Linked DNA regions of Homo sapiens: regions 1, 3, 4 and 5 are each linked to region 2. Evidence: promoter capture Hi-C in 16 types of primary human blood cells and fetal thymus (Javierre and others, 2016). All regions are on one chromosome and are shown on one strand. The core of a region is centred on a gene start or on the middle of the fragment in contact, and the rest is flanking DNA. Distances in the headings are between cores, read along the strand shown.

Region 1 (2,700 bases), core at 196-2,695, 4.2 Mb before region 2:
ATCAAAGGATGATTATCAGTTTTTCTGACTTAAGATGGTAAGACCCTAGCGAGGTCTTGAAAATCCACGCCAACACATATACACAAAAACATATGCATATTACATACACACACAAACTCAAACACACTATGTTTCTTAAATCATTTACTTCTTTTCCCATGATACTTTCCCTAAAATAATGATGCAGGGGATGGCAGAGCAGAGATTTTGAGAGAATCCATTTTCCATCTCTGGCAACTTGGACAAATCTGATATCTTTCACTCTCATCTACTAAACACCATGACTTAACTAACAAAATTGGTAGCAGAATTGGCTGGAATCTAGATTTCCTAATGTCTCTCTACTTTCTTTTGCCCAAGTACCTTATGGTACAAACTGCTTTCAGAAGAAATACTTAAGCAAGAAATGTAAATGCAAATTCCCCAAATGAGGTTAAGTTTGTAAGTGTGACAAACCTAGTGGCTGGGAACAGGAAGGAAAGTAGTGGCTGAACTGTGGTATTAGCATTTGAAATTTTCCTTCCTAAAATGTAAGTTTATGGCAAAAGTGCTGACATTAAAGGGGCAGAAGGACAAGACAGCAGGTGCAGCCCTGTTACTCTTCATAGTGGAGGTACAATGAAACCTCAGTTAAGTTCTCCTGCCCCAGCCCAAATGCACAACACACGCCAGGGAATTCCATCTAGGTCTGGCACCCAGTCTGGAGGCTTGAAAAGTGGCATCCTGAGTAGGGGGAAAAGTGTGAGTAGCTTCCTTTTCCCTTCCCCAGCATGTGACATGTGGACCCAGTCACACCACTCACTGGCTCTGGGACCCTGGGCTCACTGGTTTTCTTTCTTCATCTCAGTGAGTGTCCTCATCTCCCCATAACAGGCACAATGCCAAACATCTCTCTCCCAAAGTTGCTCTACAGAACCCTGGGATTACAGGATGTACCTAGCACATTAGCAGACATTCAATAAACAACAGTTTCCCTTCCCTCTGTTCTATCCTGAAAAGACATGTATGCTCTTCCATGTCCCAAAAAGCTTCTACTGGCAGCCAGACTATACTATAGAAGAAAAGAAACAAAGAACTAGAAAAGTTGTTGAGAAAACGTTTTCTCTTCTGAATTTAAATGAAAGAAAAATGCATGAGGACCAGTACATACAGCAGAGTGATACAATTTAATTTGTTTTTTATTTGGACTATTTTTTGCCTTTTCTCTTGGAGAATGATAACCCTGGGAAACTAAGAATCACTGCCTTCATGACTTCACTTTTAATGTGAACGATGTAATAGTGAGACATCAGTATATAAACACTGAAGCCTTACTACAACAGTGCCCCTCTAACTGTGCAACAGGATTCTATAATTGTCCAGCAAGTTTCACAAGGCCATTCTAACACTTCCGTAAAGCGCAACCTCATCCTTCAACCTCCCGCTCTTGGATGGAAGCCAAGAAGGACATATATTATGTTGCAAGATATTCATTCATATATGTTAAGTATGAGACACCAAATGGGTATTTAAAAAGCAATTTTCTCCTTCAATCAGAATTATCTTCTACCACATGATTATGGTTTCCTTTTATTACTTTATTATTAAAAACAGTATTAATCTATTGGTCTTGGTCATTAGAAAACACTAAAGTGCTATCCATTGTGGAAGTATGGCAGCAATAAAGTATTGTGAAATGCTCTACTCTATGCATTACACACTGCCCACCACCAAAAAAATATCTAAAGTAACTAATAGGATACTAATTTTAAGCAAAGAGAGTCTACCTTATAGATGTCTTTAAATATTTATTATTCTAAGGTACTTATAAAAACAAGATACCAAGGAAAAAAGCATTTACAAAAATACAACATGAAGCTTTAAACTTTAATTATTCAAGTTTTTATTACTTCAGAAACAAGACTACAGCACATGCATCAAACCCTTAAAACCAAATGGTGGTGCTCATCATCCAAATAACTTAAAATAACACTTAGATGAGATGGGTTGAAGAAAGAACAAAATTAAGGGGTTAAATGCTTCATCCCTAAGGGAAACAGGATTGTTTTTCAGAATTAAATGTTAAAAGTTTACAGGACAGATAGAATGAGACAGAAGGGAGTACATACGTTATGAGCCCATTTATATTGCATTCTAGAACAGAGATAAATAATTTATGGCAACAGAAAGCAGATCAGTGGTAGCCTGAGGCTGGGGGTGGGGAATGGACTGCAAGAGGACACGAGAGACTCTGGAGGGTGATGGAAATGTTCCACAGCTGGATTGGCAGTGGTCATGTGACTGTACGCATTTGCCTAAACACATCAAGTTGTTCAATTCAAACGGGTCCAGTGTATTATACCTAAATTATATCTCAATAAATATATTTTCTTTTTTAAAAAGGTTTATTGCTCAGACAACGTCCATACTCATTTACCCTATTTCCTTTCTAAGCATTACAGAAACATCCTACACATACCTGAAGCCGTGCCACAGCATGGGGGTACCCACCATGCAGAAGAAAAGATGCTTGCAATCACATCAGGTGGAAAGAGCGTCACATTTCTCTGAATCTGAAGTAAATTTAACACTAATGCAAGAAATACTCCAATAAAAAATAGCACTACTCCTCGAATCATCAAGTTCACACTCTGGCTAGTGACAGATGAAATATATGGGCCACACTTTTTGGGCCCAGGTGACTCTGTCTCTCCTTCTGCC
Region 2 (2,700 bases), core at 117-2,616:
TGCAGTTATGAGTGTGGTACAACTCTCTAAAACGTCTATTAATACAAAATGAACGACCACACTTTAAAGCCACTCTACATTTTCGCAAACTACCCTACATATCTACGAGTAACTATTTGCAACTTAAACACCCTCCTATATACCTCTATACCTTCCTGCTTCCTTCAAGATACCATCACAGAATGAACGAATACAACTTAAATTAGTTTATTTTCCAGGGTGCTTCCTTTCCCCCACTCCATGAAACATAAGTACATTTTTTTAAGTCATATAAATGGACACCAAGCACCGGTAATTCAGTCTCTTTAAAACCTGCTTAAAAGTTCTAGTAAGATGTGCTCAGGTTGGAAACTAAAAACTACCTTATAAGGGTATAAAAGACTGAAAGCAGGAAGCGGCTTTGACAAAACTAAGGAAGTTGCAGCGCGCTTGCTCACTGGGGGACTTTTTTGAGGCTACAGAAGTAACACATGACATCTTTCTCCCTCGAATTAAAATGTGACTTGGTTCACCGGTTAAAACGCAGAGGGAGATGGAAATGACCAGGAGTCGAAAGGAGAAGGTGGGTGGTCAAATGAAAGCCCCACTGTAGGTTCCCATTTTCAGAGTCCGATTCTTCCCTTTCCCCACCCACACCCTGGGCAGAATGTTGTCACAGCGATCTTGTCAAACCTACCAGGAGCGCTTCTCTTTTCTAGCTCCCCTGCCAGGCCAGTCCCCGAGCTCGGCCCCTGGGTCCCCAAACCGACTGGCAAAAACGGGCGCGGAGGGAAAGGAAAGCCGGATGGGTCGGGCCCGGGGACCACCCCCAAGACGACCGTCCCCAGCGCCCTTTGGGCGGCGCTGCCCACCGTAGTGGGGGAAGGGCCGGGAGGGGTCGCGCGGAGAAAGCCGCTGGGAGGGTTGGGGGTTGAATCTCGGGCCCGCGCCCCCGCCCCAGTCCCAGGAGGGAGAAACGAGGGGACCCGCGAGGCCCTGGCTGCGGGCCCCACCCCTCGCTGGCCGGCGGGTCTAGGACTGACAGCCGGCGGCGGCACCTCGCCGCACCATTCATTTCCCGGCCTCCTCCCTCCCCCGCCATCTTCCTTCCTCCGCCTCAGTTTCCCCACCCCCGCCCGTAAGCCCCCTTACCCCGTGCCACAGTCCACCACACAGGCCGGCAGCCGTCCCGCCATCTTCCTCCTCGCCTGCTGCTGCTGCTGCCGCCGTCTGCTCCGTGCTGCTAGGGGCCAGAGATTGGCGGCGGGAGACAAGGGCTATCTGACCATCCACAGCTGGGCCGCCTTCACCGTCCGGGGGGTAGCCGGGAAGCCGAAGCAGTAGCAAGAAAGCAGCAGGCTCGGTCGGCGGCTATCACTTCCGCAACCCAGGCAGGCAGGCAGTCCCCGCCCTGCCCCGCCGCGGCCTCCTCCCCCTCTCTCTTCCCTCCTCCTCACTCCTGCCCCCACCCTACAACTTCTTCCCCTCACGCCGCCTTTCCCCGGGAAGCCAAGATGGCCGCCGGTGCCGACGCCCCGGCCAGGCCAGGCCCAGGCCCCCAGCGCTCCCCCTTCCGCTCCGAGCGGGAGGGGCTAGCGAGCATGCGCAATAAGGTACGTTCGCCTGCCTGGGCTCCGATCCTGAAGTTGGTGAAATCCACTGCGGGTTTTCCAGGAGTGTAGAGGCGGAGAAGTCTATCCGAGCTTCCAGTTCTGCTTCTGAAGCTGGAAGGGGCTTTTCGGTTGTAACCCTTGGGTTAGTTTCAGTTACTTCTTTGCTAGGTTGAGGAAAGGGTGGAAGCGCCTCCTGCAGCCACGAATATCCTCCAGTGCCTGAGAGAAAACGGCCTAATCGAAAACGTCCGCGGCATACATCCATTCTTAAAACTTGAGTGGCTGCTTTTCTGGGTGGAAAAGAGCGGTATCAGACAGGGTGAGCAGTCGGGGAACGGATGAACAAAGACTTGCACCGTGGCCCTGATGCCTTTGTTCCGAGTTCTATTCAGTTGTACTTGTGCGTTGTTACAGGACTTTAGAATGCAGCCCTGCCCCCCAACCCCCACCTCCCAGGGCCGACCTGTGCTCCTAGGAAGGCAAACCTCCCAGGAATATATTCTGCATAACTATACAAATAGGCCTTTATTCAAGGCTTTTGGATTATGACAAAGATTACCCTCAGGAGTAGTAAGATTCTACTAGCAGGATAATAGAAAGGATTAAGGCTCCCCTCCAAAGAAAATTTTTTTAAGTTAGAAACGGAGGCGAGCCGCAGTGGGTCATGCCTGTAATTTCAATGCTTTGGAAGGCCGAGGTGGGAGGATAGGATAGCTTGAGGCTAGGAGTTCGAGACCAGCCTGGGCAACATGGGGAGACCCCCCCCCATCCCTCCAAAAAAGAAAAGAAAACTGGAAAGCCTTAAAGAAACCTTTCAAACTTTAGTGTGTATCAGAATTACCTGAAAGGTTTGTTAAAACAGATTGCTGGGCCATACCCCCAGAATTCTCTGACTGGGCTATCGGAAATAATGCCTGAGAATGTGCATATCTAATAAGTTCCTAGTTCCACTTTAGGACCCTAGAAGGTTAGTATCTTTCCTCTCTACCAGGCTTATCTTAGGATGAACCGTTCGGGGTTTGCTGATGTGAAGCTAAAACAAAAATATTCTTTAAAAGGAGGGATGTCTTATTCAGTCCATAAGATCATCTAATGTATTAAGCTGGCT
Region 3 (2,700 bases), core at 177-2,676, 4.2 Mb before region 2:
ATGTCTACCTAGAGGTTTGGCAAAAGGTTAGTCATTTTTTGATGGGGGCGGGGTGGAGGATGGTGATTGGAGAGGAATGTGTGGAATATATTTAAGATTTGGTTTTTATGGAGCATTTGTTGCAGGTATTTATGGTTGTTTATCATCTCTAGATTTATTTACTGAGATGATAAAACAGAGCTGAGATCACCCAGTATCATTCAAGAGTTTGACATTCTGGTTGCCTTCCTGATAGAAATGTGTCAGCCTATTTCTTGTTTGTTGCACTTGATTTGGGGGTGTTTAGGATCCATTTTTGTTCAGCCACTTAAATGTTGTTCCAAATTCATTAGCATCTGTTTGGATTCCCAGCCACGGATGCCCTGTGGCTGATAATTTAAGTGCAGAATGTCTGTCTCACAGGGCTAAAGGAAGAAAAAGGCCAGTTCTTTTCTTCACCTTAAAACTTCTAACACATATGGAGCATGTTAGGCTTGGCATTAGCTGCTTGCATTAGTTCACACGTAGGTCTGCAAAATAGAACAAACAGATGAACTAGACTGGTAAATAGAGTATATTTCTGTTTATTTGCATTTTCAGATTGGAGTCTTAAATCTAAGAAGTGCAGAGAAAGCAGCATTCTTCTATTTGTTTTAAAAGCTTGATTCTTTCAGTAATAATGTCAGTCGAAGTGACTGAATTTTCATCTCCCTCAACCATTTTCTTCATTCAGAGAAATGAGAATGCATATCATCCATTCAAGGGAAATATAATGCATTATTATAATATGCCTTGGCCTAAGTAGCTAATCACTTTTTATTAACACTTTTTGGCCCAGGGAGTTGGGATTTCTCCAAGCTGACTGTCAGGGTAGGGATTCTGGGAGTCTATATTAGTAATTAGCATTGCAAGATCTTGACTCCTGGGGTGATTCAAATTAATACAAAATAAAAGTGCAAATTTCCAAATAGTGTTGAAAGCCATATCTATTATTAAATTTATGTTATTAAAGCCCTTTCCAGCCAGTATGACAGGAGTCCAAAGCAAAGGATTTCCTTAAATATCTACACGACTCGTCTTGGATTCTTTAAAATTAAATTAAAAAGCATACAATGAAAGATCAAAAGAAATTTCTGTACAATTGAGTTACGCCTTGGCAGTAAAGTTTTCTACCAAACCAAATCCATACAAAGCAATATTAGTTTCATGGTCACAGTTGCTTTTGGACTTTCCTTGATACATTTGGCAGCTATCTTGAGAGCATCCAAAGAACCGCTGGCAACATCAATCACTCATTTCATAAGCAGGCGCTAAGAGGCGACAGGAGGGCGCTTGGCACAATACCATCTCTCCACCATGGAGCCCCTCCCAGGCAGGGAAAAAGGGAAACGGTGCAGCATAGAGACATTATGGAGCACTCGGCTTCGAATAAGGTTCTGCTAATGTGGAAATAACCTGCTTTCTCTAACCATGTCTTTAGCAGACTAAGTGGTTAATTGTTATTGATCAGCTCTGCCCACTGTTCCAATATCAGTCATTATTGAAAATAATCTCAGTATCCTTCATTAAGCATGCATCTGTTTCCATGGGAATGCATTTTAAACACAGAGAGCTACTTGAGTGTTATTGGTTTCACTGGTAGCGCCGGCACCGAGGGCTGTGGTTGCCCAATCTGTCATAGTTAATCAACTCTCATCTCTTAACACTGGCTGCAGTTATCAATGAGGTAAGGATTAATATTCTGGGCGAAGCAGATGATAAATCATTTGTATATAATTAGTGTACAGCAAGGTTACAGCTGACATGAATTTTTATCTTAATTATGAGAGAAATTTGTTCCATTAATTTAATTTAGTTTGCATGAGTGGCTAGACACCTAACAAAGTTAATCTTACACCTGTCATTACAACATTAAGTAGAAAGCCTCGTGTCGAGGCGCTAGTCTCAGATCCTCCCGCAGATGAGGATAATGTTGTTCATCTTGATGTGAAAATAGATGATTGTAGACAGAAGATGTAAAGTCGACTCTTTTTAAAGTTGTCCCAGGGAATTTATGGGAGAATATTGAAGTGGCTCAACTCAAGTTGCTGTGCTTTGGATGCCACAGTCCCCTTGTGAAATTACCTCTCTCCTGCCTTGCAAATCTGGTGGAAGACACTAGATACAAGAAGAGATAGGTTGTTTTTTAAATGTATATATGCTAACTTCAGAGCTTTTGGCCAAATAAAGCTTTGCCTCATGACAAGCTATTGCATTTGTATCAAATGCAATGAATTAAGAAACTTGTGCTAGTTCGAGTTGTCTATTCTAAGTGCTTCATGTTTATAATCGACTAGCAGAATTCCTATAACTCGATCTACTGTACAAATGGTAATTATGCAGACATCCCAAAGGCTTCAGAGTACTGCATAAACCTAAACCCTGTACTAATTATCCAAGTAATCACTGTGTCTGATCAATCATATTTGATTGATAGATTAGATGGGGCTGTTTATGCAGTAGAATGTGATGTTCTTTATTTTCCTAAAGATTAGCTACATATTTGAGATTTTAAAAAGGAAGAAAAGACTTGCTGACTTGGCTTATTTAAAATGGTTTCCTTTATAGACTTACCTTTGTGATAATTGTTTTCCCTTGATGTCTGGCCTGGTGTAGGCAGAAATCTTTAAATGAAAAGGGGTAGGAAGTCACAAAGTTACAATACAAAATCCTTGAAAACAA
Region 4 (2,700 bases), core at 201-2,700, 3.9 Mb before region 2:
TAATGAAGGAAACCATGGTCTTAGTTATAACCAGTTCATAATGTTGCAAGTACTATAACCAAGGTATGTACAAGTAAGGCAAAAAATCTGCGGCTTCTTGGGGGATGTTAGATGAGGTAAGAATGGGCAAGAGGTGGAGGACAGGACCTATGTGAAGACTGCTTAACGTGCCTTATAACTTCTAAAACAGCAAAACTATTATATCAAGTTATAATACATTTGATGCTTGTATTCCAAATTACCTTTCGGGTTAATTGGCACAACTACCTCACTTGGCTATGGTAAAGTTCTGGCATTAGTACAGTTTTTCTATAGGAACAACTCTTATCTACCTCCAACAGATACTTTGCAAACCAAATGCAGATGCTACCTACTTACTTGGCAAAAGTTTAATAATTTGCTTTAATTCCTCTTCAAACCCCACATCCAAGATACGATCAGCTTCATCAATAACCAGACACTGCAGGTTTTTATACATAAATCCTGGGGTATTCTAACAAAACAAAGGACAAAGAACAACCATTAGTTGTCAGTTTATGTTTCATACAAGACAATGAGACAAGCACTACATCTCTTACCTGCATATGGTCCAGCAGACGGCCTGGTGTGGCCACAATGATGTTGATCCCATTACCAAGTTTCTGTGCTTCAGCAGATCTGTTACTGCCACCCATTATCAAGCCATAGGTATGCACGTGGTGAGTCATCAGCTCCTTAAGAACACCAAAGGTTTGCATGGCTAGTTCTCTAGTAGGTGAGAGAATAAGGACTCCTGTTCCTAAAAATGATATATGGTAGAAGTCTAAATGTGGCTGTCACCACTGAGTCCGTAACAGCTACAATAAACCTCTAGTGAAATAATGGCAGAAACAAGCAGATGAACGCTTACCATTCCTGGGCATGAACCTTAACTTAACAATGAGTTCAACTGCAGGGATGAGAAAAGCCAGGGTTTTACCACTGCCTGTTTTTGCAGCTGCTAGAAGATCCCTAAATATTAAAAAGGGAAAGGAGAAAGACATTTAGCCTACTCATTTACGACGTACTACATACACACACCTTAGGCACTACGGCTAGAACATGAACAAGAAACGTCTACAGTGCTGAAATTGATCACCTGGGTTATATACTGAAATCATAAGTCAGAACTGTGCTACAACAGAAGCAGAACACCTTTCGAACACTTTCCTTCAAACATCAGTAATTAACTTAAAGCCTTTAATGTATGCTGGATACATGACCCAACATATAGTACAAAATCAACAGAATATACTGGTATGTTCTTTATCATCTACTAGTTCTAAAAATAGATGCCAATATCTAAGCTTCAATGTTAATCATACCTGCCTTCCAGAAGTGGTCTGATACTTTTATGCTGAATTTCAGTCATGTTTGTAAAACCCATTTCTTTTATTGCCTTCAGAGTGTTTTCATTGACAAGATTACATAGAGAAGCAAACGAAGTATCCTCAAAAGCTCCTAAACAGAAGACAATTTATCATTAGCAAATTTATCTTTTTTTTTAAAAAAGTATTGCTACAGTTGCCTAAATCTATTTTGCTTAGAAAAGCTTCCCGCAGTAAGAAAAGGCTAAACCTTAATTATTCATATGTGATAATATCAAGAAAAAGACCCTATATCTTTCAAGTTTCTCCACTGTTAACGGCTGTGTGAGTTATAGTCCAGAGACCATACTATAACAAAACAAGGGGTAGAGAGGAGGTATAACCAAGGAATTTATATAAAATAAAAATACCAAAACAAGGAAAATAATGAGAGTCCAGAGATAAATGAAATGTTTAAGAAATCTGATATAAAAGTGAAAACATTGAGCATTAATAAAAACTGAGTGTGAAGTCAATAATAAAAAAAAAACCTGTTAATCTCACTCCAACAAGACACAGAAGAGTCAGATACAGCCACAGAATGTTAGGCTGAGCCTACGTATCAAGTAATACAGTGGTGGTTCAGCAGAAGGCATCAAAATCACCTGGGGGTTCCCCATACTCCACATGCCCAGGGTGTAAACCAATCACTCTTGACCTTGGCATTGCTGACATCTGGGCTGAATAATTCTTTGCTGTGAAACACTATCCTGTGCCTTATAAGATATTATGCAGTGTTTCTGACCTCTACTCACCAGATCCCAGCAGACTGCTCCTAGCTCTGAGAACCAAAAATGTCTCCTAGGCTTAGGATGACCAATCTTCTCAGTAGGCTAGGGACAGAGGAGATTCTTGGGATTCAGAACTTTCAGTGCTAAAACTGTTAAAGTTCTGGGCAAACCAGGAAGAGTTACTCTTCTTACTCGGGGGGCGAATTTCCCTGCTCGAGAGCTACTACCAAAACGTTTGCAATTTGGATTAAGCAGGTCTAGGGTTGGGCCTCAACATTTTAACAAACCAACCAACCCAAACCAAATAAACAACTCAAGTAACTCCTAGACATATCTGGTTAGGAGCAGTGAATTCTAGCCTAAACTCAACTTTATAAAGGAACAAAGGCCAAAGGAGGTTAACCTCGTACAGGGCCAATCATTTTCCTATTACAACATAGAATGAGACTCAGAAAAGGACAAACCAAGGAATCCTAGAAGCTGCTAGTGTGCATATAAAATATTTGGTGTCAGGAATGAACAAAAGGAAAAAAACAGGGAACAAAAAGAACTAAAACACCACAAAATAGAAGATAAAGAGAAAA
Region 5 (2,700 bases), core at 99-2,598, 4.1 Mb before region 2:
GCTATTTAGATGGTTTATAGGTTTTTTTTCTCATCAGTAACATTGTGATGAAGATCTGATATAAGCCCTGAAAGTGGAAGTATCATATCAAAGAAAATTTTTAAGTTCTTAATATATTTTGTCAAATTACTATTGAAATCTTACTTCCTAGTCCCTATAACTCAGTTCCCCCAAACCCCAGGACTCACATCCCAGACACCCCTTCATCCCAAGACCCACATCCCAGATCCTCATACCCCAGGCCCTGCTGCTGAAGTCCTTACTGGTCAGCCTTGTGCTGAAACAAACAAGGAGAGGACTGAGAGCAGGACTGGAAGGGTAATGGGAAACTGTCCAGAACACCTCAGATGCTCCTTCTGCCAGCAATGCTTTCCCCTGAGGCCCTTCTATGGTGTCCTTTTGGGATTTAGGTCTCTCTCAAATGGCACTGCAAAGCCTAATCCTGGCCCCTTCATCTAAAAGTGACTCTGACTCTAGCTATTCTTTATTGCATTACACTGGTTTTTTTTAATTGTTGTTGTTGTAGTTGTCATTGCTTGTTTTTTGGTTTTTGTTTTTTTTGTTGTTGTTGTTGTTAATTGTAGAGACAGGTTTTTGCCATGTTTCCCAGGCTGGTCTTGAACTCCTGGGCTCAAGCAATCTGCCTGCCTCAGCCTCCCAAAGTGCTGGGATTACAGGTGTGAGCCACCACACCCAAACTACACTGTTTTTCCCCCCTTTAATAGCACCTATTTCTACCTGATATTATCTTATTAATTACATGTTTAATTTCTGTCAGTAATTATCTTGTTTGGTGTGTTGACTGCAGTATCTGCAGCATCAGGAACAGTTTCTGGCACAGAGAAACTCTTCTCAAATTGACTGCTTATTGGAATCACCTGTGAAGCTTTGAAAATCCCATTACCTACCCCCGACCAAAAGAAAGAATTGTTTAGTTATTAAATCACTTTACAAAAAAATGTAAATATTATTTTCTCCAGGAGATAGAGAATGTAGCAGATATTCTCAAACATGTTTATTTACTACTGTGTAGTTGGCCCCTTGTTGAATCCTTTTTAATGTAGCTAATAGAGTGTGGTTGTACAAACTATGAAAGTTATTGAAATTCTTTGATAAAACTATCATTTTTGGGGGAAAACGTATTGGAAGAACTCATCCAAGTGTGTGTGTGTACACGCTGTGTTTTTCTAACCTTCAGTCCAGAAGTAGAAGGGGTTTAAATCTGCTTGCACTGCCTGTGCCTCCATTATGTTACTGTAGAAATGTGACATGCTAAATATAGGATGGTGCATTATAAAATTGTACCGCTTGAGAATAGACCAGCATGCCATTAAGAATTTTTAGGAAGAACTCATTTAACCTAAGAGCTCTTTGTTTATGGATTTTGAATTTTATATGCCACTGTGATCTATAAAGAAACAAATCCATAATGAAGTCACTATTCACTACTGTGTTGTATATAAAACAATATGTTCCAAGGCAAAAAATTCAATATTCATGCCTCTCCCTAGCCCAATTAAATCAGGATTGCTAAGGGTGGAATCCAGGTGATTCCAATGTGCAGCCAAGTTTGAGAGCTACTGACATAGAAGAAACTCAGCAATATTTGTTGGATGGATGGATGGATGGATGGATGGTTGGATGGGTGAGCAAAAGAACATGGGGAATGAGAAATTTGGGGCTCTGGTTCTAGCACTCCCTCTAATGTGCTGTGTGACCTCGCTGTGTCACTCTACTTTACTGAACACCCATTGTTGCACTACATGTAGAAGGAATGAGAGAAGCCTGAAGACAGAATAATTAAAGCTTTATAGAAAACTTCCGGCTGGGAGCGGTGGCTCACGCCTGGAATCCTAGCACTTTGGAAGGCCGAGGTGGGCGGATCACGAGGTCAGGAGATCGAGACCATCCTGGCTAACACAGTGAAACCCCGCCTCTAGTAGAAATACAAAAAATTAGCCGGGCGTGGTGGCGGGCGCCTGTAGTCCCAGCTACTCGGGAGGCTGAGGCAGGAGAATGGCGTGAACCCGGGAGGCGGAGCTTGCAGTGAGCCGAGATCGCACCACTGCACTCCAGCCTGGGTGACAGAGCGAGACTCCGTCTCAAAAAAAAAAAAAAAGAAAAAAAAGAAAGAAAACTTCCTCCAGAACAAAGCTAAGCCTAACAGGAAGCTCTTTACTATGTGTATTAGGCCATTCTCCCATTGCTATAAAGAAATACCTGAGACTGGGTAATTTATAAAGAAGAGGTTTAATTAACTCACAGTTCTACAGGCTTTACAGAAAGCATGGCGCCGGCATCTGCTTGGCTTCTGGGGAGGCTTTAGGAAGATTACAATCATGGTGGAAGGTGAAAGGAGAGCAGGCATGTCACATGGTGAAAGCAAGAGCTAGAGAGGATAAGTGCCACACTTTTAAACAGCCAGATCTCGTGATGAGTGACTCAGTGTCAGGAAGACAGCACCAAGAGGATGTTGCTAAACCATTCACAAAAAATCCACCCCAACGAGCCAATCACCTCCCACCAGGCCCCACCTCCAACACTGGCTATTACATTTTGACATGAGATCTGGGTGGGACAAATATCCAAACTATATCACTATGGTACCTCTTTACCCACGAACTGGAAAGTATTTGTGAGGCTCCAAAGAGGAACATCACACAACTCTGTACTCAGTGTACAGAAGAGAGACAGAATGAC

What was found. Contacts are between HindIII fragments. The CHiCAGO score rates a contact against its expected background, and 5 or more counts as called.
Region 1: a fragment that was not itself captured here is called in contact with the fragment with the promoter of ACTR3 in region 2 in 1 of 17 cell types (M0 macrophages); the score reaches 5.0 in M0 macrophages.
Region 3: a fragment that was not itself captured here is called in contact with the fragment with the promoter of ACTR3 in region 2 in 1 of 17 cell types (M0 macrophages); the score reaches 5.1 in M0 macrophages.
Region 4: a contact is called between a fragment that was not itself captured here and the fragment with the promoter of ACTR3 in region 2, in 2 of 17 cell types (fetal thymus and naive CD8 T cells). The highest score is 8.6, in fetal thymus.
Region 5: a fragment that was not itself captured here is called in contact with the fragment with the promoter of ACTR3 in region 2 in 1 of 17 cell types (fetal thymus); the score reaches 5.1 in fetal thymus.

The regions. Positions count from the first base shown.
Region 1 is chr2:118,096,559-118,099,258 of GRCh38, reverse strand. It overlaps INSIG2 (insulin induced gene 2), which reads right to left. Exons shown (of 6, transcript NM_016133.4): 2 at 2,459-2,700. Among named protein-coding and RNA genes, the nearest start is that of INSIG2, 9.4 kb to the right of the region's middle. The HindIII fragment of the contact is 829 bases long and covers 1,031-1,859 here.
Region 2 is chr2:113,888,755-113,891,454 of GRCh38, reverse strand. ACTR3 (actin related protein 3) reads right to left here and starts at 1,366. Exons shown (of 12, transcript NM_005721.5): 1 at 1,132-1,366. The coding sequence starts at 1,175. It overlaps ACTR3-AS1 (ACTR3 antisense RNA 1), which reads left to right and starts at 463. Exons shown (of 5, transcript NR_110174.1): 1 at 463-562. It overlaps LOC124906071 (a long non-coding RNA gene), which reads left to right and starts at 1,688. Exons shown (of 3, transcript XR_007087205.1): 1 at 1,688-2,700. RefSeq lists enhancers at 426-605, 656-705, 788-1,443, 1,476-1,565, 1,686-1,995 and silencers at 836-1,095, 1,336-1,395. The HindIII fragment of the contact is 5,488 bases long and covers 1-2,700 here.
Region 3 is chr2:118,052,529-118,055,228 of GRCh38, reverse strand. All of the region lies in intron 2 of LOC102723413 (a long non-coding RNA gene), which reads right to left. Among named protein-coding and RNA genes, the nearest start is that of INSIG2, 35 kb to the left of the region's middle. The HindIII fragment of the contact is 1,569 bases long and covers 642-2,210 here.
Region 4 is chr2:117,819,940-117,822,639 of GRCh38, reverse strand. DDX18 (DEAD-box helicase 18) reads right to left here. Exons shown (of 14, transcript NM_006773.4): 4 at 1,344-1,479; 5 at 890-990; 6 at 579-778; 7 at 379-493. Among named protein-coding and RNA genes, the nearest start is that of DDX18, 6.6 kb to the right of the region's middle. RefSeq lists silencers at 1,927-1,996, 2,007-2,056. The HindIII fragment of the contact is 245 bases long and covers 1,328-1,572 here.
Region 5 is chr2:118,016,873-118,019,572 of GRCh38, reverse strand. No RefSeq gene overlaps it. Among named protein-coding and RNA genes, the nearest start is that of CCDC93, 4.2 kb to the right of the region's middle. The HindIII fragment of the contact is 920 bases long and covers 889-1,808 here.